Linked DNA regions of Homo sapiens: all the other regions are linked to region 1. The links are contacts of gene promoters, found by promoter capture Hi-C in blood cells and fetal thymus (Javierre and others, 2016). All regions are on one chromosome and are shown on one strand. Each heading gives the region's core, a stretch centred on a gene start or on the middle of the fragment in contact. The rest is flanking DNA. Distances are from core to core; before and after follow the strand shown.

Region 1 (3,957 bases), core at 61-2,560:
AAAAATAAAAAAAATAAATAAACTAAAACTAAAAGAAAACACACAAAATGAGGGTGAGATAATCAGATAGTAGCAATAGCACACCACCCATCGTTGCCATCCCAGGCCAAACTCCTCATACCCTACAGCTCTCTCCTCCTGCAAACACTGAAAAGAACCCTTTCAAATGGCAGGACCCTTCTCTTCTGGGGGGAGTCTCAAGAATGCCCACTCCCTCTTCCCTGCCCTGCAGTCCCAGCCTTCTCATCTCTTACCCCAGAGATATGAAATAACATACTTAAGACTGCCCCACTTAAATCTGACCTCCTGGCCTTGACCTACTCCAGACCGCTCCCTTCACCCCAAAGATATTCTAAGCCCAGCCCCTTCCCCACAACTTCAGACCTTCCTCTCTAGTTGCCTAAGTGAGGAAGCCTCCACTCTGAGACATCTCAAAGTCACCATTCCAAAATCCAAACGTTCATGGAAAAACAACAAAAACACCTTGCTCTTTCATGCCTTACTTTCAGTCATAGCTGCATATGATGGAGCAGAAAATCCTGTTGGTTTCAAATTTAAAACCTACCCAGAATATGATCACTTCTACCCACTCACCTGCCATTACTCTTGGTACATCCACCACCAAAGCATTCCTGGAATCCACTGCAGTAGCCTCCTTACCGGTCTCCTCGTATCCATCCTCGCAGTCCCCACCCCAAACTAATGTTCTCCCCTGAGCAAATTTCGAGACACTTAAAATCCCAGCTAAGATCACGTCCTTCTATTCAAAACCCTCAGTTAATCTCAACGCCCTCAGAATGAAGCGACAACTTCTCAGCCTGCCATTCCAGTCACAGTTCCTCAAACTCTGCTCTGTGTTGATGAGAACCCTGTCTCCCAAATGTTTGGGGGTCAGCAGCACCCCCGAGCCTTTACCTGCGCCGTCCCCTCCGCCCGTAACTCTCCCACACCCACCCACACCGAGATAGGACCCCGCCCCAAGAGTGCGTCGCTGTCCTGGGACACAGGGGCTGCAGGCACTTTACGATTCGGAGTCGGAGAAAGGGTGACTGAGGGCCCGGAGGACGCAGCACCCACCCGCGCGGAGTCCGTTAGCTCCGCCATAGGACCGTGGGCGCGGACAGCTGCCGGGAGCGGCAGGCGTCTCGATCGGGGACGCAGGCACTTCCGTCCCTGCAGAGCATCAGACGCGTCTCGGGACACTGGGGACAACATCTCCTCCGCGCTTTCCCAACACCTCCACCTGCGGCCCACACAAGCGTTACAGAACCCCGGCCAGGGACAGCCTGACAGAAACAAAATGTCCGCTACAAGGAGGAGCCGGAAGTCCCGCCCACGCACCCCCCGCAGGCACTGAAACACCCCTCTCCTGGGCCCTCATTGGGTATGCAACGTATAGGTTTGTGGGTAGAGTGTGGTTCCCACTGAGCTATCCTTCAAGGCAGGGGATTCTCGGCCTGGGCTCTTGGGAAAACTCGAAGTAGGAGGGCCAAGTTGTTTGGGAAAAGTAACCCGAGTTTCAAAGGGCTGACAGGACTTCCGTCCTCTTTTTTTTTTTTTTTTTTTTTTTTGAGACAGAGTCTCGCTCTGTCTCCCAGGCTGCAGTGCAGTGGCGCGATCTCGGCTGACTGCAACCTCCGCCTCCCGGGTTCAAGCGATTCTCCTGCCTCAGCCTCCCAAGTAATTGGGACTACAGGGGCCCGCCACCACGCCAGGCTAATTTTAGTACTTTTAGCAGAGTACGGGATTTCACCATGTTGGCCAGGCTGGTCTCGAACTCCTGACTTTGTGATTTGCCTGCTTCGGCCTCCCAAAGTGCTGGGATTACAGGAGTGAGCCATGGTGCCCGGCTGACTTCTGTCCTCTTAAAAGGCCTGGACCTAGATTCCCTGGAGTGTAGTATGCACCGATCGCAGAAATGTTGAGACATTTCAGATGTTCCCCAAAGCTGCAAAACTAAATAGATACACCACACCACAATGTCTCTTTGCGTACACTCACAGCTAGAAGCTAATAACTATTACCTTGTTGCTTTTTAAATATGTGTGCACTCAAGCTTTACAGTAACTTTTGTGAGCTTCAGTTTGGTCAGAGACGGAAGAGAAAATATTCCAAACAAGGCCTTGGAGTGGAAGAAGGAAGAGGGATGATGTGGAGTCTCCCTGAAACCAGTGGACAGATTTCTTCAGAAAACTCTTCCTGCCTGGGTAATCAGTGATGTCTCCATCACAGCAAAACACAGTGCAATTACCATTTAACCTGTCATTGTCATTGTAAGTATGGTGTCTGTGTTAGGAGGTGAGATTATCCCCGGGGGAAAAATCCTGACAGCTATTAATAATGATTCCGTAGTTATTTGAAGATAATGAAAGAAATTGCTCTAAGGAAATATCTGTGATAGATGGACAAAGTTAAGATCTCAGTAAAGTTTGAGCCTGAATACTAAAGTATAAGTGAAAGAATGAAGTTAAGCATATGGTTGTGTTGTGATCTTGACCACACTTTGTCAACAAAATGTGACTCTTTTTTCCTGAAAATGCTGAGCAATTGTAAAGAAGATATCAGAATGGTAAAAATCAACAGTGAAGTTGTGCTGTCTTGATAATTCACTGTTAAAATACACATCCAAGGAACACATACGAGCTCTCAGTAGGTGTTTTTCAAATGTGTTAGTAGCATGAAAGACATCACTAATAAAATTTCCAAGATTCCTATACATACAGGACATGTCCTGCATATAATGATTTTTGTCCTGCATCACCTTTTGACTTTGTCACAATACCCTAAATAAATATTCTAAAGAAGGCAACAGTCTTAAAGAAAAGAATTTTCAACCCGGAATTTCATATCCAGCCAAACTAAGCTTCATAAGTGAAGGAGAAATAAAATACTTTACAGACAAGCAAATGCTGAGAGATTTTGTCACCACCAGGCCTGCCCTAAAAGAGCTCCTGAAGGAAGCACTAAACATGGAAAGGAACAACTGGTACCAGCCACTGCAAAAACATGCCAAATTGTAAAGACCATCAAGGCTAGGAAGAAACTGCATCAACTAATGAGCAAAATAACCAGCTAACATCATAATGACAGGATCAAATTCACACATAACAATACTAACCTTAAATGTAAATGGGCTCAATGCTCCAATTAAAAGGCACAGACTGGCAAATTGGATAAACAGTCAAGACCCATCTGTGTGCTGTATTCAGGAAACCCATCTCACATGCAGAGACACACATAGGCTCAAAATAAAGGGATGGAGGAAGATCTACCAAGCAAATGGAAAACAAAAAAAGGCAGGGGTTGCAATACTACTCTCGGATAAAACAGACTTTAAACCAACAAAGATCAAAAGAGACAAAGAAGGCCATTACATAATGGTAAAGGGATCAATTCAACAAGAAGAACTAACTATCCTAAATATATATGCACCCAATACGGGAGCACCCAGATTCATAAAGCGAGTCCTTAGTGACCTACAAAGAGACTTAAACTCCCACACAATAATAATGGGAGACTTTAACACCCCACTGTCAACATTAGACGGATCAACAAGACAGAAAGTTAACAAGGATATCGAGGAATTGAACTCAGCTCTGCACCAAGCGGACCTAATAGACATCTACAGAACTCTCCACCCCAAATCAACAGAATATACATTTTTTTTCAGCACCACACTACACCTATTCCAAAATTGACCACATAGTTGGAAGTAAAGCACTCCTCCGCAAATGTAAAAGAACAGAAATTATAACAAACTGTCTCTCAGACCACAGTGCAATCAAACTAGAACTCAGGATTAAGAAACTCATTCAAAACCACTTAACTACATGGAAACTGAACAACCTGCTCCTGAATGACTACTAGGTACATAACGAAATGAAGGCAGAAATAAAGATGTTCTTTGAAACCAACGATAACAAAGACACAACATACCACAATCCTGGGACACGTCCA
Region 2 (3,518 bases), core at 638-3,137, 710 kb after region 1:
TGTCCACACACAAGCATCCATCCCTTGGATGTTTCCAGCCTAAACCCGACATAATTTCATAATCACATGTTTAGTGGTCTACTTGGCACCTCAATTTGGTAGTGTCTGGGACATCTCAAATACAACATGGCCAAAATCCAACTCTTTATCTTCCCCCTGAAATCTACTCCTCACACCAACTTCCACATCTGAAAGATCTAAGGTCAATTTTTTTTTTTTTTTTTTTGAGACAGAGTCTCGCTCTGTCACCCAGGTTGGAGTGCAGTGGCGCGATCTTGGCTCACTGCAAGCTCCGCCTCCCGGGTTCAAGCCATTCTCCTGCCTCAGCCTCCCGAGTAGCTGGGACTACAGGCACCCACCACCACGCCTGACTAATTTTTTGTATTTTTAGTAGAGATGGGGTTTCACCGTGTTAGCCAGGATGGTCTCAATCTCCTGACCTAGTGATCCACCTGCCTCGGCCTCCCAAAGTGCTGGGATTACAGGCGTGAGCCACCACGCCCGGCAATTTTTTTTTTTTTTTAAGACAGAGTCTCGCTCTGTCACTCAGGCTGGAGCGCAGTGGCACGATCTCAGCTCAATGCAACCTCCATCTCCCAGATTCAAACAGTTCTTCTGCCTCAGTTTCCCAAGTTGCTGGGATTACAGGTGCACACTACCATGTCCTGGCTAATTTTTCTGTATTTTTAGTAGAGGTGGGGTTTCGCCACGTTGGCCAGGCTGGTCTTGAACTCCTGACCTCAAGTGATCTGGCCGCCTTGGCCTCCCAAAGTGCTGGGATTACAAGTGTGAGCCACTGCACTCAGCCTTAGGTCAATCTTAACATTTCACTTTCTTTCACTGTCCCACATCAGGTAATCCATGGCCCAGTTTGGGCAGATTCAGAAGCCAACCATCTGTCCTACCTCCACGGGCACCCCTCTGTCCAGCTACCCAAAGCACACATCTGGACCACATCTGTCAGCTCCTCACTGGCCTTCCTGCTCCACCATCACCATCCCTCCAGTCTGCTGCCCACTAGGCATCCATAGGGCGTCTGTTAAGACTGGAGTCAGAGCACCTACTTCCTCTACTCCAAACCTTCCATGGCTCCCACCACCATCAGAATAGAGGTCCAGCTCCTCAGGCTGCCATTCCAGGCCTAACTATTGGTTTCCCTTCCCTGTTTCCACCAGACTAAATGGAGACCGGCAGTCCCCAGAATGCTTCCATTTCATCACCACTAAACAAGGTACACATGCTGGTCACTGTCCCTGGGACAGCCTTCCAGATCTCATTCCACAGGATTCCAGAAATGGGAATCCCTCGATATAACCCCTTGCCTGGATTCAGGATGGTAAGGGTAAGTGACTCCCAGGGCAGGGCCCAGGACCCACGTGTGAGGACAGGACACGATCAAGAGTCCCAGGACACCAACATCCCCTCTATCTGGGCTTCAGGATCCTGAGGGCCGGAATCCCAGCGGGTGAGGGCCTGGGGCACACTCCACTTACCTGCGCCGGGCCCATCAGCAACGCTGGCAACCCCATTAGAACCTGTGGGCTGGGCAGGGCCATAACAGGAGGCCCAGGGCTAGCCCTGCCGCTGGGCCGAACCCTCACACTTCCGCTGGGTGACGGTCGCACTCAGGACCTGTCTTCCCAAATGCAAAATGCGCGCAAGGCCTCTGGGCACCGCAGGGACGAAGGCTGGGTATGGAGACCCTGGAGACGCGTGGCGCTGGCTCCACTTTCGGGAACACCTTGGCTCATAAAAGCAGAGTAATTAGCCGGGCACTATGGTGCGTGTGAAGGCGCGGTGACGGTCCCTGCACCCACTCCCGTGCCCTGGTGTGGCTCCAGAGGCCTGCTGTAGCCCAACCCACCAGCAGCAAAATGAGGACCGCAATGGCGGCGCCGGAAGTCCCGCCTCTCAATGACAGCTCGGACTTGCCACTGGTCCGAGCTTTCATTGGCTCAAGGATCCCCGCCGTCTATGACGCTATTTCCCTATGCCCGTCACGCTACTGCTAGGTCGTTGCCAAGGTGATTGAGGAATGGCGTTTATTGCGTCGCTGCTCAGGCAACGCAAACTACATTATCCAGAAGGACCCTCGCGGTGCCTCAGGGCTGGCCATTGGCAGCCGAGGAGACAGGCACTTCCGGGCGGAGTGTAAGACGCTGGCCAATCACAGCCTGGCAGCGGGACTTCCGTCGTCGTCCTCGGACCATCACTTTGGCATTTCTCGATTTTGTCTGCTTCTGAAGGGACCGCGTTGTCAGGCGAGGGACGGAATCTTGGAGGCTCCCTGGGCCCATGGAAACAGGAGCGAGGAAGGCACGAGAGTCGGGGAAGTTCCGCCTTCTTGACATACAAGCGCCCCCACCGCGGCGAATATCGCCCCTGAGCCCAGTGTTCGCCCCCCACAACACCGCACCCCCCTTCCCCACCCTGTGCCTTAGATAAAGCCGGCCCAGTGGGACCCTCAGGTTGCACCGCGCGGAGGTGTCCGCGGCTCTCGGGAGTCGTCGCCCTTGGCGTTATGTTGGCTTTAGGGAGCGCGAGGCCGAGGCCAAGAAAAGCTACGCATTGGGAGGTCTTGACCCAGTGTGCGCCCGGCTGTAGGCATGGAACGTGCGCCAAAGGTCTCCTGGCACCCACTCCGCTGGACTCAGCACCATTGTCCTAAGTCTCCGATTGAGAAGTATCTGCCCCAGGTCCTCTGCGGGCCCCACTGAACAGTGTGGAGCGTTCACAGGTTGGGGGTCACCATTTCAGAATCCAGTTTGTTGAGACGTGGAGGGTACAGGAGGAGGGATCTGCATATGCGAAGACTTGGACTTGACCCTGACCTGAGCGTTCAGGCAGGCTCTCATGCCCCCTTGGCAGCGAGTGGAGAGCGTAAGAGGAGTCCTGCCTCTCCTGGCACACCGAGGGCGCCTGGGAGCCATGAAAGGTGTTGAACAGAAAAGGGATGGACATGACCTGAGTTAGAATTTGGAAAGTATTTCAGTGGTTGCTGAATGAACACACTACTGGAGAAGGTGGTTGTAGTGGGGCTGGAAGCAGGGAGACTGTGGGGGAGGTTATTGCAGTATTGTTCCAGACAGTTATGATAGTGGCCTGTCCAGAACGGAAGCAAGAAGGATGGGAGAAGTGATCAGATTCCCAGTGGATCTTCAAGATAGAGCTAATGGAATTTTTTGCTACCTTAGATAAGTGGAATAAGCATGAGTAGGGGTGAAGGACCATCCCAAGTAGTTAGGAAGAATTAGGATGCCTCCTGTGGAGAATAGAGGTTGGCAGTTGGCAGGAGGAGGATGTTTCATGGAAGATTAGCGATGGATTTTGTAGGTATAGAGTCTGAATTGTCTGGAGACCTGTGAGTGGAGGTGTCAAATGGGCCTCTGGATATATAGAATTCTGGTGTGGCTTCAGGACGTCCAGACTGCATTATGTTGGTGGCCTGGCCCAGTGAACGGCCTGAGGATAGGATTTGGGAAGGAGGGTTTTAGGTTGGAGGACCAGTGGCTAGGGCT
Region 3 (3,972 bases), core at 410-2,909, 640 kb after region 1:
TCCTGAACTCTTGACCTCAGATGGTCCACCCGCCTCGGCCTCCCAAAGTGCTAGTATTACAGGCGCGAGACACCTCGCCCAGCCTATGCAACATTCGTAAAATGACAAAATGGTAGAAATGAGAACAGATTACTAGTTGACAAAAAGAGGTTAACGGGGAGCAGAGGTAGGAGGGAAGGGTATGCGGCTCTGTAAGGGCAACACGGGGATCCTTCGTGATGGAAATATTCTGCATCTCAGTTGTGATATTGTACTCTAGTTTTTCTTTCTCTTCTCTTTTTTTGAGACAGAGTCTCGCTCTGTTGCCCAGGTTGGAGTGCAGTGGCGTGATGTGGGCTCACCGCGACCTCCGCCTCCTGGGTACAAGCGATTCTCCTGCCTGAGACTCCCGAGTAGCTGGGATTACAGGCACCAGCCTCCACACCCGCCTAATTTTTGTGTTTTCAGTACAGATGGGGTTTCACCATGTTGCTCAGGCTGGTCTTTAACTCCTGAGCTCAAGGGATCCACCCGCCTTGGCCTCCCAAAGTGCTGGGATTACAGACATGAGCCACCGCACCTGGCCTCTAGTTTTTCAAGATGCCACCTTTAGGGGAATTGGGTAAAGCGTACATAGGGTATGCATTACTTGTTACTGCATGTGAATTTATAATTACCTCAAATCAAAAGTTAAATTTTAAAAAAACGACATCTGATTTCAATAAAAATCCATATTTGTGTATTGAAGTATCAGAAATCCGGGTCCCCCAAGGGCCCATGTTTCTTAAGGCGGAGCCAGGCACCGCTGCCCCTCCATCCTGTGGTGTGCGACCCCGACCCGCCAGCCCCCAGCCGCATCTATCAGGGCTGCCGTCCTGAGTCCGTCCTCGTCGTGGGATAGCATGTGAGCCCCGTAAGGTCCTTCCTGTCGGCCTCACTGCTCCAGCCTCCCCGACGTCCTCACGTCCACGCTGCGTGCCCTTTCTGAGCCTCAACGCCTCCTCCTCACCTCGACATGATCAGAGCCACCTCCCGCGTCAGTCCCAGCGCCCACGCCCCCAACAACGGGCACTTGTCCGACCAGTCACGGGTACTTGTGTCTCCCCCACAACCCCCAAGGCCTAGGCTGGACAAACAAATACGGAGTGGATAAAGGGGAGGAAGCTGCGGCCAGGTGGCGCGAGGCCTGTGCGGGCAGCTCCGGAGGCTGGGAGGCGAGCCCAGCCTGGTGAGCTCCGAAACTACCCGGGGCTGGGGACTGATGAACGAATAAATGAATGTGGGAAGAAATGATGGCGCGGCAGGGCATGAGTGAATGAGTGAAAGAATAAACGAGCAGGAGGAACGATGCCACAGAACTGATCGCCATAAGGCTCGCGTTCACCGAGAGAACAGCAAACGGGAGCCATTTCCGTCCCGACCACGGTCGCCTCTGGCCCGTGCAGGGCCACTTCCGGGCCGCTCTGGACGGCGCGGAGGCCTATCTCTCGGTGGTCCCAGAGGGCCCAGCTCAGGGCCGAGGCCCGTCCTGCCCCGCGCGGCGGGAGTGGTTGGAGCCGGAGGGCGGATCTGTGCCTGGCCGAGGGTGTCCGTCGGCGTCACTCACCGTCCTCGGCCCGCCTCTGCGTCCACTAGGAGCGGCCTGAAAGAGGCCCGCACGCGGGCTCGAGCCGCGTGGAATGGTAGGAGGGCGGGCACCGGGTCTCCTGGGGGCGCGGTTGCATTCGGCAGAGCGGCCCAAGGCGTCGCGTTTCTCCCCACTGCGCCTGCGTAACTATGCCGCGGCTGCGGGCGCGCGCCTTCTGGTTCCCATGGGGACGGCGCCACAGCCAAGCTACTCGGGCGTCCTGCGTTGCCATGGATGCGCTCCGCCCCTTCCTGCACCCGGCCAGCCTCTGCGGCACACACCCAACAGCTACACAGGCGCCTGGGGCTGCCCGGGTCGCGGACGCAAGTCGGGCCAACGTAGCTTCTCCCTGGCGGTCCTCCTCCGGCCCCAGGCCGTCTTTACCACCCTGGAACCTTGCTGAGTTGACGCCACTGAGCTGCGTCTCACACCCACGCGCTGTGGAACACCCACCAAGCTGGAATCCACGCGGTTTTTAAAATAGAGTCGGGGGCCGGGCGCGGTGACTCACGCCTGTAATCCCAGCACTTTGGGAGGTCGAGGCGGGCGGATCACGAGGTCAGGAGATCGAGACCATCCTGGCTAACACGGAGAAACCCCGTCTCTACTAAAAATACAAAAAATTAGCCGGGCGTGGTGGCGGGCGCCTGTAGTCCCAGCTACTCGGGAGGCTGAGGCAGGAGAATCGCTTGAACCTGGGAGGCGGAGCTTGCAGTGAGCCGAGATCGCGACACTGCACTCCAGCCTGGGGCGACAGAACGAGACTCCGTCTCAAAAAAAAAAAAAAAAAATTGAGTCGGGATCTCAGAAGCTAAGCAGGGTCGGGCCTGGTTAGTACTTGGGAGACCGTCTGGGAACACCGAGTGCTGTTGGCTAAAATAAATAAATAAACCGGGCGCGGTGGCTCACGCCTGTAATCCCAGAACTTTGGGAGGCCGAGGCGGGCAGATCACGAGGTCAGGAGTTCGAGACCAGCCTGACCAACATGGTGAAACCCCGTCTCTACTGAAAATACAAAAATTAGGCTTGTTGGCGTGTGCCTATAATCCCAGCTACTCGGGAGGCTGAGGCAGGAGAATCGCTTGAACCGGGGAGGCAGAAGTTACAGTGAGCTGAGGTCGTGCCACTGCACACTCCAGCCTGGGTGACAGAGCAAGACTCCGTCTCAAAAAACAACATAGACCAGATGCTGTAAGCTAAAATAAATGAATAGCTAGAGACGGGGTCTCGCTATATGGCCCAGGCTGGTCTTGAACTTCTGGGCTCAAGTGATCCTCCCACCTTGGCCTCCCAAAGTGCTAGGATTACAGACCCGAGCCACTGCACCCGGCCTCCACGAGCTCTTTTTGTACCAATTTTTCCCAATTTGTACTAGGGAGCTCTCACCTCAGCCCAGGTGGTTTGGGCAGGTGTGGGTACATGGCCCAGGTCCACAGCACAGGGCAGTCCATCCCTCTGGCCCTGGCAGTGGTCACTTTGGACCTGTGAGCATCGTGGGACTTCTCTCTGAACTGTTAGGGCCTCTATCTGCTTTGAACCTGAGGCTGTGAGCATCTGTCAGCTGGGGCAGCTGCAGCCTTCTTGCCCCGCTGAAGGATGAATCTGTTAAGAGAATGGAGTCCATACAGAAAAGCAGAACTGAGGGATGGTGTGTTAGTTTCCTGTGGTTATGCAGCAAATTACCACAAATTTGGTGGCTTAAAACAGCAGAAATATATTCCCGCCCAGTTCTGGGGACCAGAAGTCTAACATCGATATGACTGAGCTGAAACAAGATGTTGACAGGGCTGAGCTCCCTCTGGAAGCTCTAACGTAGAACCTTTCCTTGCCTTTTTCAGCACCTAGAGCTGCATTCCATGTATTCCTTGGCTTTTCGTCCTTTCCTCCATCATCAAGTAACTGGTAACATCTTACTATTTCTCTCATTAAGTTAAAATATTTAACATATGTTCATTTTATCTTATTTGCATGAGAGTCAATTTTAGCTTTAAAAAAATTTTTATTGGCCGGGTGGGGTGGCTCAGGCCTGTAATCCCAGCAATTTGGGAGGTGGAGGTGGGCGGATCACCTGAGGTCAGGAGTTCGAGACCAGCCTGACCAACATGGTGAAACCCCGTCTTTACTAAAAATACAAAAATTAGCCGTGTGTGGTACATACCTGTAATCCCAGCTACTTGGGAGACTGAGGCAGGAGAATCGCATGAACCTGGGAGGCAGAGGTTGCAGTGAGCTGAGATCATGCCACTGCACTCCAACCTGGGCAACAGAGCGAGACTCCGTCTCAAGAAAAAAAAAAGGGGGGGAGGCCTGGGCGCAGTGGCTCACGCCTGTAATCCCAACACTTGGGAGGCTGAGGCGGGGGGATC
Region 4 (3,693 bases), core at 644-3,143, 740 kb after region 1:
CTCCGCTTCCCGGGTTCACGCCATTCTCCCGCCTCAGCCTCCCCAGTAGCTGGGACTACAGGCGCCCGCCACCGCGCCCGGCTAATTTTTTGTATTTTTAGTAGAGATGGGGTTTCACCTTGTTAGCCAGGATGGTCTCGATCTCCTGACCTCATGATCCACCCGCCTCGGCCTCCCAAAGTGCTGGGATTACAGGCGTGAGCCACCGCGCCCGGCCCTGAACTTTAATACTTCTAAGTGTTGGGGTTTTTTTTTTCCCCCTCAGGGTTTTTGTTTGTTTTTTCCTGAGACAGGGTCTCTCTCTTACCCAGGCTGGAGTGCAGGGGCTCCATCATAGCTCACTGCACACTCCAACTCCTGAACTCAATCCTCCCACCTCAGCCTCCCATGTAGCTGGTATTACAGGCATGCAAGACCATGCTCAGCTAATTTTTATATTTTTTTATAAAGATGGGGTCACATTTTGTTGCTCAGGCTGGTCTCAAACTCCTAGGCTCCAGTGATCGCTCACCTTGGCCACCCAAAGTGCTCAGATTCCAGGTGTGAGCCACTGCGCCCAGTCCTGAAATGTTCTTAAATTCTTTCAAAGTAGCAAAATTTATATTAAAACATTCCAAACATGATGAGCTCCCTTGCTCTACAAGGATTTACAAGTAGAATCAATTAGGTGGACAGTTATAGCTGACAGTTGACAGAGAGATAGTTATAGATGGAGGTAGGTATAGAGGGAGGGAGGCAAAAAGAGTTAAGGAACTGGACAGCTGAGAACTGTCTACAGGTTCCAAAAACAAGACAAAGAACCTTTTATTATCTGCCAAACAAGACAGTCTACATTGAGACTGCTCTGCCTTTCGTTTTTATGTGTCAAAGACACTTAAATTGGCCTGTAATCCCAGCACTTTGGGAGAACGAGGTGGGCGGATCACCTGAGGTCAGGAGTTCAAGACCAGCCTGGCCAACATGGTGAAACTCCATCTCTACTAAAAAATACAAAAATTAGCCAGGCATGGTGGCGCACACCTGTGGTCCCAGCTACTACGGAGGCTGAGGCGGGGGGATCACTTGAACCTGAAGGCAGAGGTTGCAGTGAGCCGAGATTGTGCCACTGCACTCCAGCACGGGCAACAGAACAAAGACCCTGTTAAAAAAAAAAAAAAAAAACTTAAATGAGTCCCAAGAAAAAAGGAAAAAAGAATGAATATTGTGATGTGTGGGGCAAGACAAGATCTAGATGGTCTAAGGACAAGCAAATCTGGGGAATTAACTTCTGCCCATCCAAATTACAAGGAAAACAGATGCTTTGGGCAAGTGTCGAGGAACAGTCTCATACTTAAGACAAATGTAGGCTTACGGGCTGAGAATTCTTGGTGTAAAGGTTGAAAACGGACCTTAAACCTTTACGGGACATTGACACAGAGAGGTCAAACCCGCGCCCAGGACGCACAGTCAGTGAGAGGCAGAGCTGGGAAGGGAACCCGGAGCTCCAGGCATCGGCTCCTCCACCTCCACCTGCGCTACCCGGTGCATTTTCTCCTCCGTGCTCACTGCTGGTGTTGCCTCTTGGAACCTCGGCAGTTTCTGCTTTCGCACCTGCAGGGTTTAGTCTCCGGGACTGCTTGGGAGGACACCTGGAATGCCGAAGGCAGGACTACACACCGGGCGAATCCACCAGCGCCACCAAGCCCTTGAAAACCCGAGGCCGCCGCGCGACTCCATTTCCCAGCGCCCCGCGCGGCAGGGGCTTGGACGTTGCCAAGGAGACCGGTAGTGGCCCCGCCTCCACGCAGGGAAACAGGCGGGAACCACGTGACCCGGAAGGCTGTACGCAAGCGTCCGCGGCGCGCACTGGGCCAATGAGAACCGAAGGGCTGGACTTCCGGCGGTGGGACTGTCACTTCGCCGCCCGCGTCAGGCCACACCGGTGGTCTGGGCTGGGGACCGCGGGTCGGGTCCGGTTTCCAGGGGGTTCCTGGTGCTCGAGGCTGGCGGCGAGGAAGGTACTGGCTGAGGGCCCGCGTCGGGCCCGCCCTGCGCACGCGTCGTGATCAAGGGCGCCGGCCGCCGGCCGCGCCCCCAAGCCTCTGTTTCTCAGAGTGCGTCGTGGGCGTCCAGGGGACTGTCGGGCCGCGGCGGGAGCCATGCGCTCTCCCACCGTGCGGCAGCCCAGGAGGCTGCGCGCTGGGCGTTCCACGTCCATGATGGCCGGGGAGACTGAGGCGCGGGGCGGCCCCGGGACGCTGCTGGCGGGGAAAGGCTGGGTGGTCCACGCCTTTCTTCCCTCCCAGCTGCGGGTTCCGCTGGCGGCGGTGGCGCTGACAAGCCCGCGTCGGGGAAGCAGGGGAGTCCCTGCTCACACAGACCGCGCCCTCACGGAGGGAGGCCGCTTCCTAGACCTCGCCTAGTCGTCTTTCCTCTCCCTGCCCTGGGGGGGTTGCGGGGGTCAGTGCAAACTCCTGCGTCCAGGGCACTGGTGAGCTCCCGAGTTCGGGCAGCCAGGGGGCTGAGGTCCCGAAGGAGGCTCCGAGGGGAGAGTCCTGCGTGTGCAAAACCTGGGAGGGGAGCCGAAGCCCAGGTGCTTCTGGGACTGAGCTCTCTCGATGTGGAGCTGGAGTAGAGGGGATGTGTGCGGCTGCAGTATCAGGCGAGGGAGTGGGCTTTATCTCGAGGGCGTCGGGAGACATAGAAGTTTTGAACAGAATCAGGACATCCTCTGAGGACTTTAAAACGGTTCCACCGTTTGTTGCGTGGAGAACAGACATGCAGGGGTGTCGGCATGAAGGGAAGAACCGACTGCCACAGTCTGGGCAGCAGTGGAGGTGGGCGACCAGGTGAATTCTGGTGGATCTGCGGATGCATCAGGTGTGGGCTGTTTGAAGAACTAAGTACCCCATGTTGTTCAGCCTGAGCGCCTGGAAGAAGAGAGCTGCTGTAGATAGAAAGGAGAATTGAAAGGAAAGCAGGTTTCCTTCAGGGGAAAGATCAAGAGTCTGGGATGTCCCAGGTTGGTCATGTCACTGGACCTGACGTTGTTGGCGTCCTGGGCTGTGGACAGGGCCTATGAATTGGACTGAGGAATGGGCAGGGACTCAGCCAGGTGTGGGCAGTTATGGCTTGAGGGTAAAGAAGACCAGCTGGGATGCCTGGGGCTATTGGGAAGAGCCTAGCACCTAACTGAGGAGGGGAGGGTGGCAACAGAGAGGGGAAGAAAGGGGACACCGGGTGAAAGGAGGAAGGGATTGAGTTCCTCTGTGTTCACAGGTTGTTGAGGCTGCTCCCCTGTGGCGACTGGTGAGAATCATCCAGTCCCTCAGGCTGGATGAGCAGCCTGGAAATGTCAGGCAAGCAGGCTCAGCAGGGGAGGGTCCCAGTGATGGGTATGCCTGGGAAGCCCCTGCTGGGACTCACAGTTTCTTGCTACAAGAGCAGGAAGGGTGCATCTGGGGAGGGTCATGAGTGGTCATGCTGAGTCACGAGTGGACACCTGGGGCTGCTCTTGGTGTGGCAGCTGAGGGCCCAGCCAGGACTTGTTCTAGCTTGCTTGTGTATGGCGTTGCCAGTGGGGAGGCCAAGAAGGCATCTGGGGTCTGGTCAGGGAGGGCAGAGGGGAGGGGTCCCAGACATGTGAGGGAAGTGCCATCTGAAGATGGTGGGGGCAGAACCCAGGGAAGGAGGGTGAGTGTCTGAGGGACATCA
Region 5 (3,670 bases), core at 500-2,999, 780 kb after region 1:
CTCTCAAATTACATTGGGGGTCAGAGTTCAGGCCAAATATCAAAATCAAGTCTGGGAGCAGTGGCTCACGCCTGTAATCCCAGCATTTTGAGAGGCTGAGTTGGGCAGGTCCCCTGAGGTCAGGGGTTAGAGACCAGCCTGGCTAACTTGGGGAAACCCTGTCTCTACCAAAAATACAAAAATTAGCTGGGCATAGTGGTGTGTGCCTGTAATCCCAGCTACTCAGGAGGCTGAGGCAAGAGAATTGCTTGAACCCAGGAGGTGGAGGTTGCAGTGAGCCGAGATTGCACCACTGCAGTCCAGCCTAGGCGACAGAGCGAGACTCTGCCTCGAAAAAAAAAACAGCCAAACAAAAAACAAATGTCAAAATCAGAGGGTAAAGTGGTTTCAGAGGTCAACACTGAGTCACAAGTCAAGTGTGGGGTCAGGTCAGCCTGAGAGTTCAGAGGCTGGTGCTAGGGCTAATGGGCACCCTCACCAGTGGTCCCCGAGGTATAGATGAAGAGGGCAGGGCTTCTCCATGTGATCCCAGCACGCAGGTCAGCAGGCACTGGGTGGGAGGGCGCTGCATCCAGGGCAGCCCCCAGAGCCCCCACCCCTGGTGTAGGGGAGGTATGGCTGAGGTAGAAGCAGCGGATGTTCTCAGCCTGCAGCTTGGGAAGGATCTCCTCCAGGCTCTCCCGGAGGTCTGCAGAGATGGGTCAGAGGAGAAACAGAGGCAAGGCTCACCTTTGAGGTTGCGAGGCGGGATCTGAGACCCACAGATGCAGGCAGAGGAGCAGCTAGTAGAGAAAAGCATCCATGTTGTTTGGTAAAGAATCCCATCATTAGTATTTTTGGTCAAATTGTGGGAAAATTAAACTCTGATGACCTGAGAACTACTTTCTGCTCATAAGTCTTGATTATAATTGCCTGTGAAAGTAGGCAGGTGGGGACCAAGGGCCTCTGCCAGTCCCAGCAGAACCCCTGTCCTATAGTCCCTGCCCTTGCCCCCTTCCATTCTCCACTGGCTCCAAGGCCCTCACCTGGGTCCACCACCAGCACCCGGGCCCCAGAGCTCAGCACAGAGTGCGCCAGGGGCATCCCCCGGCCATGCGGGTTGATCCAGGCTGTTGGGCAGCCCAGCTTGGCCAGCCCCAGCCACATACACAGGGCTGGAACGGCCTGGGAAGCCAGCACAAGGAGGGCAGTAGGCTCCCCGGCACACAGGCTCGCAGGGTCACCCAGCTCAGCCTTCAGGGCCCATGCCGCCTGGCAGGCCCGGGCATCCAGCTCACCAAAGGTGACTGAGCCGGCCCCAGGCCCCGTCCACACCAAGAGTGCCCTGCCAGGCTGCGCTCGTGCTCGCCGCTCGAAGGCATCTACAAAGGTGTCAGGCGGCTGCCGGCTCAAGCATCCCCTGATCTTCAGGCCCAGGTGGAGGATCTTGGCCAAGAAGATCACATCAGCCGGCAGCCAGCGTAGTCCTGGGGGCAGCCGTGCTGGCAGGAGGGTTAGTGCCAGGGCCGCAGCTGCCAGGCTCAGCCCATGGGGCACCCAGGGGCCGAGCCAGGGCCGTGCTAACATGGCCAGCCCAAGTAGCACGCAACATGTGGGATCCCCCAGGAGCCAGCGCAGGGTCAAGGCCACAGCGACTGGCCACACTGGCTGCCCCAGGCCCCAGAGCAGGAGCAGCAGCAGCAGCAGCAAGGCCAACTGTTGCCTGACACCCATGGTACCAGCTCCTCCCTAGGAGCAGCAGCTGTGGAGTGTTCAGGCTCACCTCTGGCCCCTCAAGAGTAGCCCAATGGCTCCTCCCCAGGGGTGGTGGCCCTGGCACTGCTGACAGTGGCTGGTCCTCTCCCCAGGACTTTGCCCCCAGCCCTTCTCCTCTACGTTTGTTTGCTCTGCCTGGTCTTGTGTGTGGGTCCAGCCCCTCTCTGCCTGGCGCTAACCCTTTCCATCACTGGCCTCTGGGTTCCCAGGTCTCTGCCCCTTGGGCACCACTAGCCTCCTTCCTGCTGTCCTGCTTGCCCCATCCACCCTCCAGGGCTGGCATCTAACTCCCTTGCCTCCCCTCCCATCCCTGCTGGGTACCAGACACTCAGAGCACAGAAATCCCTGCCCTTGGGAACACTCCAATCAGGCCAAACAGAAAAGCAACAGGACAGCAAGGTGGACCTCATTGGGAGGTCCTCCTGTGACACCCACTGAAACCCTGAGGAGAGGGGCTCAGCCAGGCTAAGCCCCTTGTCCCATGATCCGAGGAATCGTACCCTCCTGCCAGGCATACAGCAAGTGCTCAGTAAATACAGGAACACTGGCATCGCCTGGATTCAAACCCAGCTCTGCCCCCCACCCATGTGCTTGCTCTGACTCTCTGCTCCACCTCTGGCTTTGACGACGATGGAGTCCTGGGGTTCAGGAGACTGAAGTCAGCCCATGATGCACACAGTTGGATCATGAAAGCCCTGGCCTCTCACCTTGAGGAAGCAGTCTCAGAAGGTGAACCCAGAGGAGCTGCCATTGGCCTAGGAGCCTGGCAGGTCAGGCTGGGGTATGGCCTGGGGCCATACCCCACTCCACCAGCTCCAAATCCTTATGGCAGGGCACCTAGGCTAGGAGCCACTATTGTGCTGAAGAGGAGAGGGGCAAAGAGTGGCTGCTCTCTCCGCTGGATGCAGGGGCCTGGGACACTGGCTGGCCAGTAGGGGTGGTGTCCCCAACCGCCCAGCAGTCAGCCCCAGGATCCCACCCCTCACTGTTTCCTGCCCCCAACACGGCCATCGGAGCCCTCCCTGAACTTTGCCCCCAGCACCAAGGGCAGATATATGGGGGCTTATATACCCTCAGTGCAACCTGGCCCCAAAGATCCCCCTGGGCTCCCCACAAGTAAGGTGCTCAGCCATGTCCATCAAGGTCGGGGAGGGGAAGTCTTAAGTCCAAAAGACCCTTAGAGCCTGACTGGAAGATCTATGGGAGGGGCCTTAAAGGTCGTGGACAGCAGCAACCAGGAGTATGATGGGGCTTTCACGTGGCCTCCCTCTCGGAGACCCACCTCAGATGTGGCCTGCCTATCCTACTCCCCACAGGACTGAGGGATCCAAGAGAACCAAGTGCTGGTTATATATGCAGCCCACCTTAGCCCCTACAGAATAGAGGTCCTAGATGGCAAAGTGGACCATCCTGTTCCTGCCCAGGACAGCCTGTGGGCCGCATGGATGCCACCCAAGAACAGGGACGCTGAACCCTGACACTCACATCTTGTCTATGAGGGCAAGGCACGCACTGATCCAGGTGCTCACAGCTTCGTGGTTTAGGCCCCATGGCCTACAGTCCTTTATTAGAGCGAGAGTCCCGAGGCCCAGCCCCCATATATGATGGGTCCACTTGAGTCTCCTTAGGCGCCCCATGAGGGAGTAACAGCTTGGGTAGAGAGCTAGGGACCTTGCCCAGCCTGACCCTGGGGCAGGCAAGCGGCCCCCCAGCCCCCACCACCACCCCAGGAGAGGGCGGGGTGAGAACCGGAGTCAAATCTTGGGCCGGGTCCAAGCGCCTGAGCGCCCGGTTTACGCAGGAAATAGTCCAGTTCTCAGAAGTGGTCTAACCAGCCCCAGCCCCAGCCCGGCACCACCTGGAGGGTTCAAGTACATGGAGGAGAGGAGTAAGGCGGACTTAGGCCCTGGTATGG
Region 6 (3,753 bases), core at 1,006-3,505, 650 kb after region 1:
CCAATGACAGGTGTCCTTATGAAGGAGGCAAAGGGAGTTCTGACACGGAGAAGAGTGGTCCATGTGAAGATGGAGGCTGATATTGGAGTGATGCAGCCACACTCCAAGGAACACCCGGAGCCGCCAGAAGCCGGAAGAGGCAAGGAAAGACCCCCACCCAGAGCCGTCAGAGAGCACAGTACTGCTGACACCTTGATTTCAGACTTCTGGCTTCCAGGACTGTGAGAGTAAATTTCTGTTGTTTTAAACTGCCCAGTTTGTGGTAGTGTGTTATAGCAGCCACAGAAACTAATAGAGACTGGTCTAGCACCCTCGACAGAATGTGTGTGTTGTAAGGGGCTCTCCTGATCCCTAGTGATGGGGAGTCAGAGGACTGCTTAGTGTCTGAACAGAGGGTTGGGGAAGCTGGGTTGTCCTGAAGAACCAGCAGTCCCCACTTGGCAGAAAGGGACCCTGAACTTGTGGGAGGTGGGGGCTGAGGGGCACCTGCTAGCCATGTGCTAACAGCATCTTCGGATTGGTCCCCAGATGCCCTGCTCCCAGGGGTGGCTCCTCTGCTGCAACAAGAACCTGCCTCCCAGCACCAGACACAGCAGGTGGGAGCTGTGGACCATGGCCGAGTCTCTTCGTCTCCTTGATCTGCTCCCAGGATGCACTGTCCAACTATCCCACCTGTAGGTGGGTGGCATTCCAGCCATGGACCCATGATCTGAGGCTGAGCACAGCAAACACAATCGAGGCTCTGGGTCCCAGGTCCCAGGAGCCCGTCCTTGATGGTGCATTACAGCTCTCCCAGGCTGTTCTTACAGTGACCTCCCACCTGCCCCAGGTGAGCATGCTTGCACCTGGGTGCTCGCCCAGCCTTTCTAGTTGTCCTTAGGGCTTCTGGTGTTGGGAACAGGATGCAGAGTTACCAATTTAGGGGGACTGAGAGGTTAACGTGGCCAAGGCTGAGCCCTGCAGAACTGCAGAGCAACAGCACACACAGGAAAGCTAGTGAGGTTCAACATCCTCATGGAGGTTGCACACGGCACAATGAGGTCTTATTTGCCCAAGAGAATGTGCAGGGAAGTCGCCAGGCACGGTGGTGCATGCCTGTAATCCCAGCTACTCGGGAGGCTGAGGCTGGAGAATCGCTTGAACCCGGGAGGCGGAGGTTGCAGTGAGCCGAGATCGCGCCACTGCACTCCAGCCTGGGCAACAAGAGCGAAACTCCGTCTCAAAACAACAACAACAACAACAACAACAAAAACAGAATGTGCAGGGAAGTCAACGTTGGTGGCTCTGAGGTGTGGAGGACACAGGCTAGTGCCCAGCTCAGCGTGGCTCCACCTCTCTGAGCCACAGACCAACCTCACCCACACTGACAGTCCCAGGGGACACAGACTCTAGCCCCTATGTCCAATTCTACACTGTGCACGCAATGGGAAGAACAGTGCATCATGCACTGTACAGCAGAAGAAATGTCCTCTGAGTGCAGGCACAGCTCCCTTCTGTGTCTGTCCTCCCGACAGTGCCTCCACCCTCAAGGATTAGCAAGCTTCAACCCTCGCAGGACATCCACTGTGTCAGGGCCAAACGGTGCTGCATCCTGCTCTAATAGTGAGTGAAGGAGGGGACCGCAGACAAGAAGAAATGAACAAGAGACCGTTTAAGAGAGAAAAAGACGTGAAGAACATCAGACAGGGAGCAGCGCGAGGGCGCCAGGGAGGGAGGCAGCGGATTCTTCGGGCCTCTGTGAAGAGGGGGCATGAAACCGGTCTGCAGACAAGGAAAGAGCAAAGTGCAAAGGCCAGGATGCGGGGGCAGAGACGGTAGGGAGGCCGGCGTCGGCCTCGGCTAGCAGGTGGGCTTGACTCCGAGAGCCGCAGGCCGCCAGGATGGGTCCCGGGCCTGGAGCCTCCCCTCGCGGGCTTCAATGACACCCAGCACGGAAACGCGGGGGCCAGAACTACAGAAGCCCGTCCCGCCCGGAACTCAAGGTCGCGAGTGCTGTGTGGCCGGTCCGGACCCGGAGCGCGAGGACCGGAAGTGCGCGGCGTCACGCCTCTGCCCCGGACCCCGCGCGCGGAGGTGGAGAGGGGACTGGGGTGGTGGCCGCGCTATGCGCCGGGAGGTCCCCGCCTCGCAGGCCGAGGTTGCGGGTCCGCGCAGAATGCCACTTACTCTCTGGAGGCGGCCCGCACGGGTCCCTGGTCCCCGCCCCGCATGCAGCGCGGAGCCGTCCTCCCGCCACCTCCGGGCCGCCGCGGCACTGAGGGACCCGGGCCACAGCAAGCGCAGGCGGGAACCCGCGCGGGGACTGCTGGGAAACGTAGTCCCGTCATGTCCCGCTTTGACGCTGCGGAGAAAGCGGTGTAGGGAGAGGCTTGGGCTTCGGTTATCATAGAAACAGAGGCCGGCTACACCTAAAAGGCGGGGCGTGGACCTAAGTCGTCGCCAAAGAAACGGCGTTCTGGACGGGGACGTAGGGTCCCGCCCATTCCTTCTCGTGAAAGCGGGTGACTGGTCATGATTATGATTGATAGCCTCCTCTCCCAATCTGATTTCTAAGAGGTCCCAACCCGGAACCGACTTGCGGTTCGCAGGCTCCCCTCGGGTGGGAGAGTTGGGCTGGGAAGCACCTGGGGAGCTCTGAAGTGTCTTGGTGAGCGCGTTGCGAGTCAGACCGATAACATCAGAATCTGGGACTGGGCCCGAGCATATGCGCGTCAAAACTCCTCAGTTAAGTCTATTTTTTTGTATTTTTTTTGGTTTGCTTTTTTGAGACGGGGTCTCGCTCTGTCGCCCAGGCTAATGCAGTGACACCATCACGGTTCACTGCAGCCTCGACCTCCTGAGCTCAAGCGATCCTCCTACTTCAGCCTCCAGAGTAGCTGTTAACAGGGGCGCGCGCCACCACGCCCGGCTAATTTTCTTTCTTCTCTCCCTCCCCCTCCTTCTCCCCCTCCCTTCCTCCTCCCACTATGTCGCCCAGGCTGGTCTCGAACTCCTGTACTGAAGCGACCCTCCCACCTCACCCTCCCGAATAGCTGGGACTATAGGTGGGAGCCACCATGCCTGGATAGTTTTTTTATTTTTATTTATTTATTTATTTTAGAGATAGGGTCTCCATATGTTGCCCAGACTGGTCTGGAACTCCTGGGCTCAAGCGATCCTCGTGTCTCAGCCTTCCAGAGTGCTGGGAGTACAGGCTTGAGCCACTGCGCCAGGCCCCTAGTCCGGCTCCTAGTTGATTCTAACACGTGCGGCCCCATTGGGGAACCACAGCCTCCCCAGCCCCTTTGGGTGTTGCTGACTCTACGGGCCCTCCCAGGTAGGATGAACTGGTCACGCCTCCTACCCATTTGTAACCCCCAGCTCTTGCCCCCATCTATTGTGTGGCTCCTGCCCTCAATAGGGACATCTAATTTTGTTGGCCAGTCCAGCACATATATTGCATGTAACGACCCAGTTTGCCCCACCTTTCTGCCTCCACTGCATCTGCTTCAGGGATGCTGGGACTGTTCCACTCCCTTTCTCCATCCTTTGGGTGTCTGCACATCGAAAGCCTTGTCAGGAGGTCTATCTCCCTGCCCAAGTACAAAACTCAGGGCTTACCAAGCTAATTGAGGGCGAGCAGGAGGCTGAAGGGCACTTGGAGGGCTGCCCGCCTTGTGGGTCCCTTGGTGGCTGAAGAGAGTTGCACAGGAAGGCCTTGACAATTGTCACAGAGAAAGGAGTGCAGCTGCTGGCTCTGTGTGGGTGTGCAGA
Region 7 (3,775 bases), core at 985-3,484, 570 kb after region 1:
CTACTAAAAATACAAAAAATTAGCCTGGCGTGGTGGCGGGCGCCTGTAGTCCCAGCTACTCGGGAGGCTGAGGCGGGAGAATGGCGTGAACCTGGGAGGCAGAGCTTGCAGTGAGCTGAGATAGTGCCTCTGCACTCCAGCCTGGGTGACAGAGCTAGACTCCATCTCGAAAAAAATAAAAGAACTTCCCGTGTCCGTTTTTGCTTTTTGGATGCTGGGAGTGTCACAACTCAGCTATCCAATCAAGGCAGAGCTGGCCTCCAGGATGCCAGAGCCAGAGCTTTGTGGTTCATCTCTAGAGGTTCAACAGGACCCTGTGGATGGCCCAAGTTCGTTTCTCTGCACTTACCTCTTCGGGGTTGTCCTCAAAACGTTGCCGTGTCAGCTCTCACTTTTCACAGCAACTCTGGCCTCCTACCTTGGACTGCGCCACTTCTGTCTCCTTAGATAACCTCCATTCGCATAGCTAAATGCTGCACCCTCCGACACTGCCACAATAATAGTTCTGTGAGTTAGTACCATTTTATAGATAGGCAAAATTTGGCACAGGACAAAAGTTAGTGGTAACTAGAACAAAAGTAACCAGCCCAAGCTAGGAAGTGGTGGAGTTAGAATTTGATGTCAGCACCCAGCTGACCATGGCTTAAACAGATGAGGCTTTGTTCAAAGGCTGTCTTTTCAGTGGCTCAGCTGTGTCACAGTCGATGTTTTCTGCAATCTCTCAACCTTTCCATTGTGGTCATGAGGAGACTCCTATGGCTCCAGCCATTGCATCCACAGTGAAGACTGAAAGAAGGGGGAATGGGCAGGCCAACACTTACCGCTGATGGTGTTTAAAGGAAAAACATTCCCAGAAGCCTGCAGCACATGCCCCCCTTAGTCTCACTGGCCACAGATGGGTCAGGGGGCCACCCCTAATAACAACGGGGCTTAGAAACCTCGTATTTACCTTTCTAACCTCTGTGGTGGAGACAGGTGGGAGAGAAAAGTCCTGGGAAGTGGATGATGGAGGCAGCTAGCCGTAGCTGCTGCTTTTCTCTTCAAGCTCTTGGGAGAATTGCTTGTGCTCCCTATTCCCTTGGTGGATGATGGAGGCAGCTAGCCGTATCTGCTGCTTTTCTCCTTCAAGCTCTTGGGAGAATCGCTTGTGCTCCCTATTCCCTTGGTGGCAGCTCACACCTCAGACCTGCTGTCCGCCCCCACTGCTTCACAGAACCCACTGCAACCACTGTCCAAGGTACTACCTCTGGTGTCGTCTCTCTTCATCCCCAGGACTGTGAAGCCTGCTAACCTCTTTGCAGAGCTCCATCTCCTTGCATTGTGGGGTTCCTTCTAACTCTTCAGGGACTTCTCAACCTCCCGTCACCCTTCCTAAATGCTGGGGTCCTAGAGTCCACCTTGTGCTCCACGCCCTCCCCAGGTGTCATCTACATCCCTAGCTTTGTGCTGCTCACCACCAAATCAGTCTGGTGCTTCTGAGATTTGGGCTTCAGACCCAAACAACTGCTGTGTGCTACTGGGCAACTCCCCGAGGTGTGCCGAAAGCTCCCCAAACCCAGCCTACCCCAAACAAAACTCATTTTCCACCCAGACTAGTCTCTGCTTCCCTGATCCCTTTCCTGGAGGCTGTTTCCACTTGCCATCCCATCATGGAAGCCAGAAAACCAGTCTTCTTGACCTCTCCCCTTCCCCACTCCATGGAGTTAGAGGTCCTGTTGATTTTGCCATGTAAACATTTCGGATTTGCTTACTTCATCCCCACTGCCACCAACAGTGCAGGATGGCCCTAAGAGGAGAAGTAATGTGCTACCAAGTGGCCCAGCCAGAGTGTGAACCAAACAGTCTGGTACCAAAACCCTATTCTGGATCATTCCTCCTTTCTGCTCCACCAGCAGTTTGGGGCACAGGCTTGGGAATCCAGACAGGAAAGCTCCTCCCCTCTGAAGCAGTGGGACCAAAAATGACAGCATGGTTCTAGACAGCTCTGGAAGTCAGGCCTGTGATTGCCTCATTCCCTCCACCTTGGCCCCCAAAATGGCCAGTCCTGAAGGGGTCACAGTTGATACTTCTCTGAGGGGGCATGGGGTTGGCTGAGGTTATAGCAGCCCCACAGGGTGGTAAGCTGGGATGAAGCAATCAACTGGAACTCAACAAGCCTTGAGTTCTCAAAGGGGGTGTGGGAAGGTTCTTATACATCTTCTATGAAGGGCAGTTTATCAGTCACTAAATTACAAATACATAAACCCTTTGTCTCACCAAACCTGCTGGGAATGAATCCTACATATATATTTATATGTGTGCAGGCTACATGGTTTTCATTATGCTATTGATTTTAAAAGTAAAAATTTGGAAAGAACCTCCATGTCCACCATGGGGAACTGGCTAAGTCATTTATGGTGGAATGGTGATCATAAAAATTCATTAAAAATGAAGACTCTATATACAGCTTGAATATTCCTTATCGAAATGCTTGGGACCAGAAGTGTTTCAGATCTTTGCATATTTTCTGTTTCTCATTTCAGTTCACATTTTCTAAGCATGATATTCCTACTGATTTCCTTGTAGATATTTTGAAACAGATAAGAAACTCCTCCGTGGAAATTACTGTTAACTAGGGAAAAGACATGTTTTTTTCTGTTCATAAAAGTAATGCGAGTTCTTTGTAGCAAAACTTGGAAAATGCATAAAAGTAAAAAAAAAATGAAAACTTGTGTAAAATTCCTCATACTTTAGCCATCCATAGATGGTCCTTACCATTAGGATTTTACTAATTTTCCTTGCAGCTTTTTCTTAAAATATACACGTGTGTCTACACATACATAGTGTACACTAAATTTTACATACACACAGAGGAATATATATGTGTATAGTTATCTTGTGTTTAGAAATTTGGAATCCCTTCTAGTTGTCTTGTAACATGTGCTTACTCTATTTTGAGGATTTTCTCTATGAATTTCATGTAGCTCTTTAAATTAACTTTCAGGAGGATTGTAACAATGTGCTCTCCACCCAGTATTTTACCAGCCTTGAGTTTTCTCAAAGGGGGCATTGGAGGGGTTCTTATACATTTACAGTGGGAATGTGAATTGATACAACTTCTGTGGAGGGCAGTTTATCAGCCACTATCTAAATTACACATACATAAACCCTTTGTCTAAGCAAACTTGCTGGGAATAAATCCTACACATATATTTGTATGTGTGCAGACTGTTTGTACATGGTTTTCATTATGCTATTGATTTTAAAAGTCAGAATTTGGAAACAACCCTCCATGTCCACCATGGGGAACTGGCTAAGTCATTTATGGTGGAATGGAGATCATAGCCTTAAAAATGAAGACTCTTTATATACAGGTTGAGTATCCCTTATCCAAAATGCTCAGGACCAGAAGTGTTTCAGATTTCAGATTTTTGAATTAGGGATCCTCAAACTATACTAATGTGAGAAAGAGCTCTAAGATAGTTAAGTAGATAAAAGCAAGGTGTCAAACTGTAGAGTATGTTTCCATTTATGTAAAGAAGAAACAGGCTAGGCAAGGTGACTCACGCCTGTAATCCCAGCACTTTGGGAGGCCGAGGCGGGTGGATCACCTGAGGTCCGGAGTTCAAGACCAGCCTGACCAACACGGTGAAACCCCATCTCTACTAAAAATACAAAAGCTGGGTGTGGTGGTGCACACTTCTAATCCCAGCTACTCCGTAGGCTAAGGCAGGAGAATCGCTTGAACCCAGGAAGTGGAGGTTGCAGTGAGCCAATATTGTGCCATTGCACTCCA

The links. The method cuts DNA at HindIII sites, captures the fragments that hold promoters and counts their contacts. A CHiCAGO score of 5 or more calls a contact.
Region 2: a contact is called between the fragment with the promoter of ZNF132 here and the fragment with the promoter of ZNF671 in region 1, in 1 of 17 cell types (neutrophils). The highest score is 6.1, in neutrophils.
Region 3: a contact is called between the fragment with the promoter of ZNF497 here and the fragment with the promoter of ZNF671 in region 1, in 7 of 17 cell types (neutrophils, naive CD8 T cells, activated CD4 T cells and 4 more). The highest score is 13.0, in neutrophils.
Region 4: the fragment with the promoter of ZNF324 here is called in contact with the fragment with the promoter of ZNF671 in region 1 in 8 of 17 cell types (neutrophils, naive CD4 T cells, fetal thymus and 5 more); the score reaches 15.7 in neutrophils.
Region 5: the fragment with the promoter of SLC27A5 here is called in contact with the fragment with the promoter of ZNF671 in region 1 in 1 of 17 cell types (total CD4 T cells); the score reaches 5.3 in total CD4 T cells.
Region 6: a contact is called between the fragment with the promoter of ZNF837 here and the fragment with the promoter of ZNF671 in region 1, in 1 of 17 cell types (neutrophils). The highest score is 5.9, in neutrophils.
Region 7: a contact is called between a fragment that was not itself captured here and the fragment with the promoter of ZNF671 in region 1, in 1 of 17 cell types (neutrophils). The highest score is 6.4, in neutrophils.

What each region holds. Positions count from the first base shown.
Region 1 is chr19:57,726,314-57,730,270 of GRCh38, forward strand. It overlaps ZNF671 (zinc finger protein 671), which reads right to left and starts at 1,311. Exons shown (of 4, transcript NM_024833.3): 1 at 1,078-1,311. The coding sequence starts at 1,215. RefSeq lists enhancers at 1,010-1,510, 1,028-1,467, 1,608-1,657 and a silencer at 1,464-1,689. The HindIII fragment of the contact is 7,103 bases long and covers 1-2,054 here.
Region 2 is chr19:58,438,266-58,441,783 of GRCh38, forward strand. It overlaps ZNF132 (zinc finger protein 132), which reads right to left and starts at 1,888. Exons shown (of 3, transcript NM_003433.4): 1 at 1,494-1,888. The coding sequence starts at 1,556. It overlaps ZNF132-DT (ZNF132 divergent transcript), which reads left to right and starts at 2,183. Exons shown (of 1, transcript NR_186311.1): 1 at 2,183-3,518. It also overlaps a transcript of ZNF324B not described here. RefSeq lists enhancers at 1,554-2,064, 2,297-2,426, 2,576-3,085. The HindIII fragment of the contact is 11,200 bases long and covers 1-3,518 here.
Region 3 is chr19:58,361,092-58,365,063 of GRCh38, forward strand. It overlaps ZNF497 (zinc finger protein 497), which reads right to left and starts at 1,660. Exons shown (of 3, transcript NM_198458.3): 1 at 1,586-1,660. It overlaps ZNF497-AS1 (ZNF497 antisense RNA 1), which reads left to right and starts at 1,535. Exons shown (of 3, transcript NR_136527.1): 1 at 1,535-1,661; 2 at 3,445-3,508. It also overlaps the pseudogene RNA5SP473. RefSeq lists enhancers at 947-1,495, 1,225-1,354. The HindIII fragment of the contact is 6,825 bases long and covers 1-3,972 here.
Region 4 is chr19:58,465,187-58,468,879 of GRCh38, forward strand. It overlaps ZNF324 (zinc finger protein 324), which reads left to right and starts at 1,894. Exons shown (of 4, transcript NM_014347.3): 1 at 1,894-1,997. RefSeq lists enhancers at 1,625-2,241, 2,242-2,856, 3,275-3,394 and silencers at 1,884-1,933, 2,014-2,143. The HindIII fragment of the contact is 6,014 bases long and covers 1-3,693 here.
Region 5 is chr19:58,510,243-58,513,912 of GRCh38, forward strand. It overlaps SLC27A5 (solute carrier family 27 member 5), which reads right to left and starts at 1,750. Exons shown (of 10, transcript NM_012254.3): 1 at 1,026-1,750; 2 at 479-688. The coding sequence starts at 1,713. It overlaps LOC105372485 (a long non-coding RNA gene), which reads left to right. Exons shown (of 2, transcript XR_001754024.2): 2 at 1-881. It overlaps ZBTB45 (zinc finger and BTB domain containing 45), which reads right to left. Exons shown (of 3, transcript NM_001316979.2): 3 at 3,288-3,670. RefSeq lists an enhancer at 1,453-1,967. The HindIII fragment of the contact is 7,866 bases long and covers 1-3,670 here.
Region 6 is chr19:58,378,775-58,382,527 of GRCh38, forward strand. It overlaps ZNF837 (zinc finger protein 837), which reads right to left and starts at 2,256. Exons shown (of 3, transcript NM_138466.2): 1 at 2,167-2,256. It overlaps LOC105372484 (a long non-coding RNA gene), which reads left to right. Exons shown (of 2, transcript XR_936130.2): 2 at 11-251. RefSeq lists enhancers at 980-1,521, 1,338-1,567, 1,522-2,063, 1,598-1,657 and a silencer at 2,008-2,517. The HindIII fragment of the contact is 42,021 bases long and covers 1,539-3,753 here.
Region 7 is chr19:58,299,601-58,303,375 of GRCh38, forward strand. ZNF8 (zinc finger protein 8) reads left to right here. Exons shown (of 4, transcript NM_021089.3): 4 at 1-3,191. The region is part of intron 4 of ZNF8-ERVK3-1 (ZNF8-ERVK3-1 readthrough (NMD candidate)); the gene reads left to right. Among named protein-coding and RNA genes, the nearest start is that of ERVK3-1, 3.9 kb to the right of the region's middle. The HindIII fragment of the contact is 9,060 bases long and covers 1-3,775 here.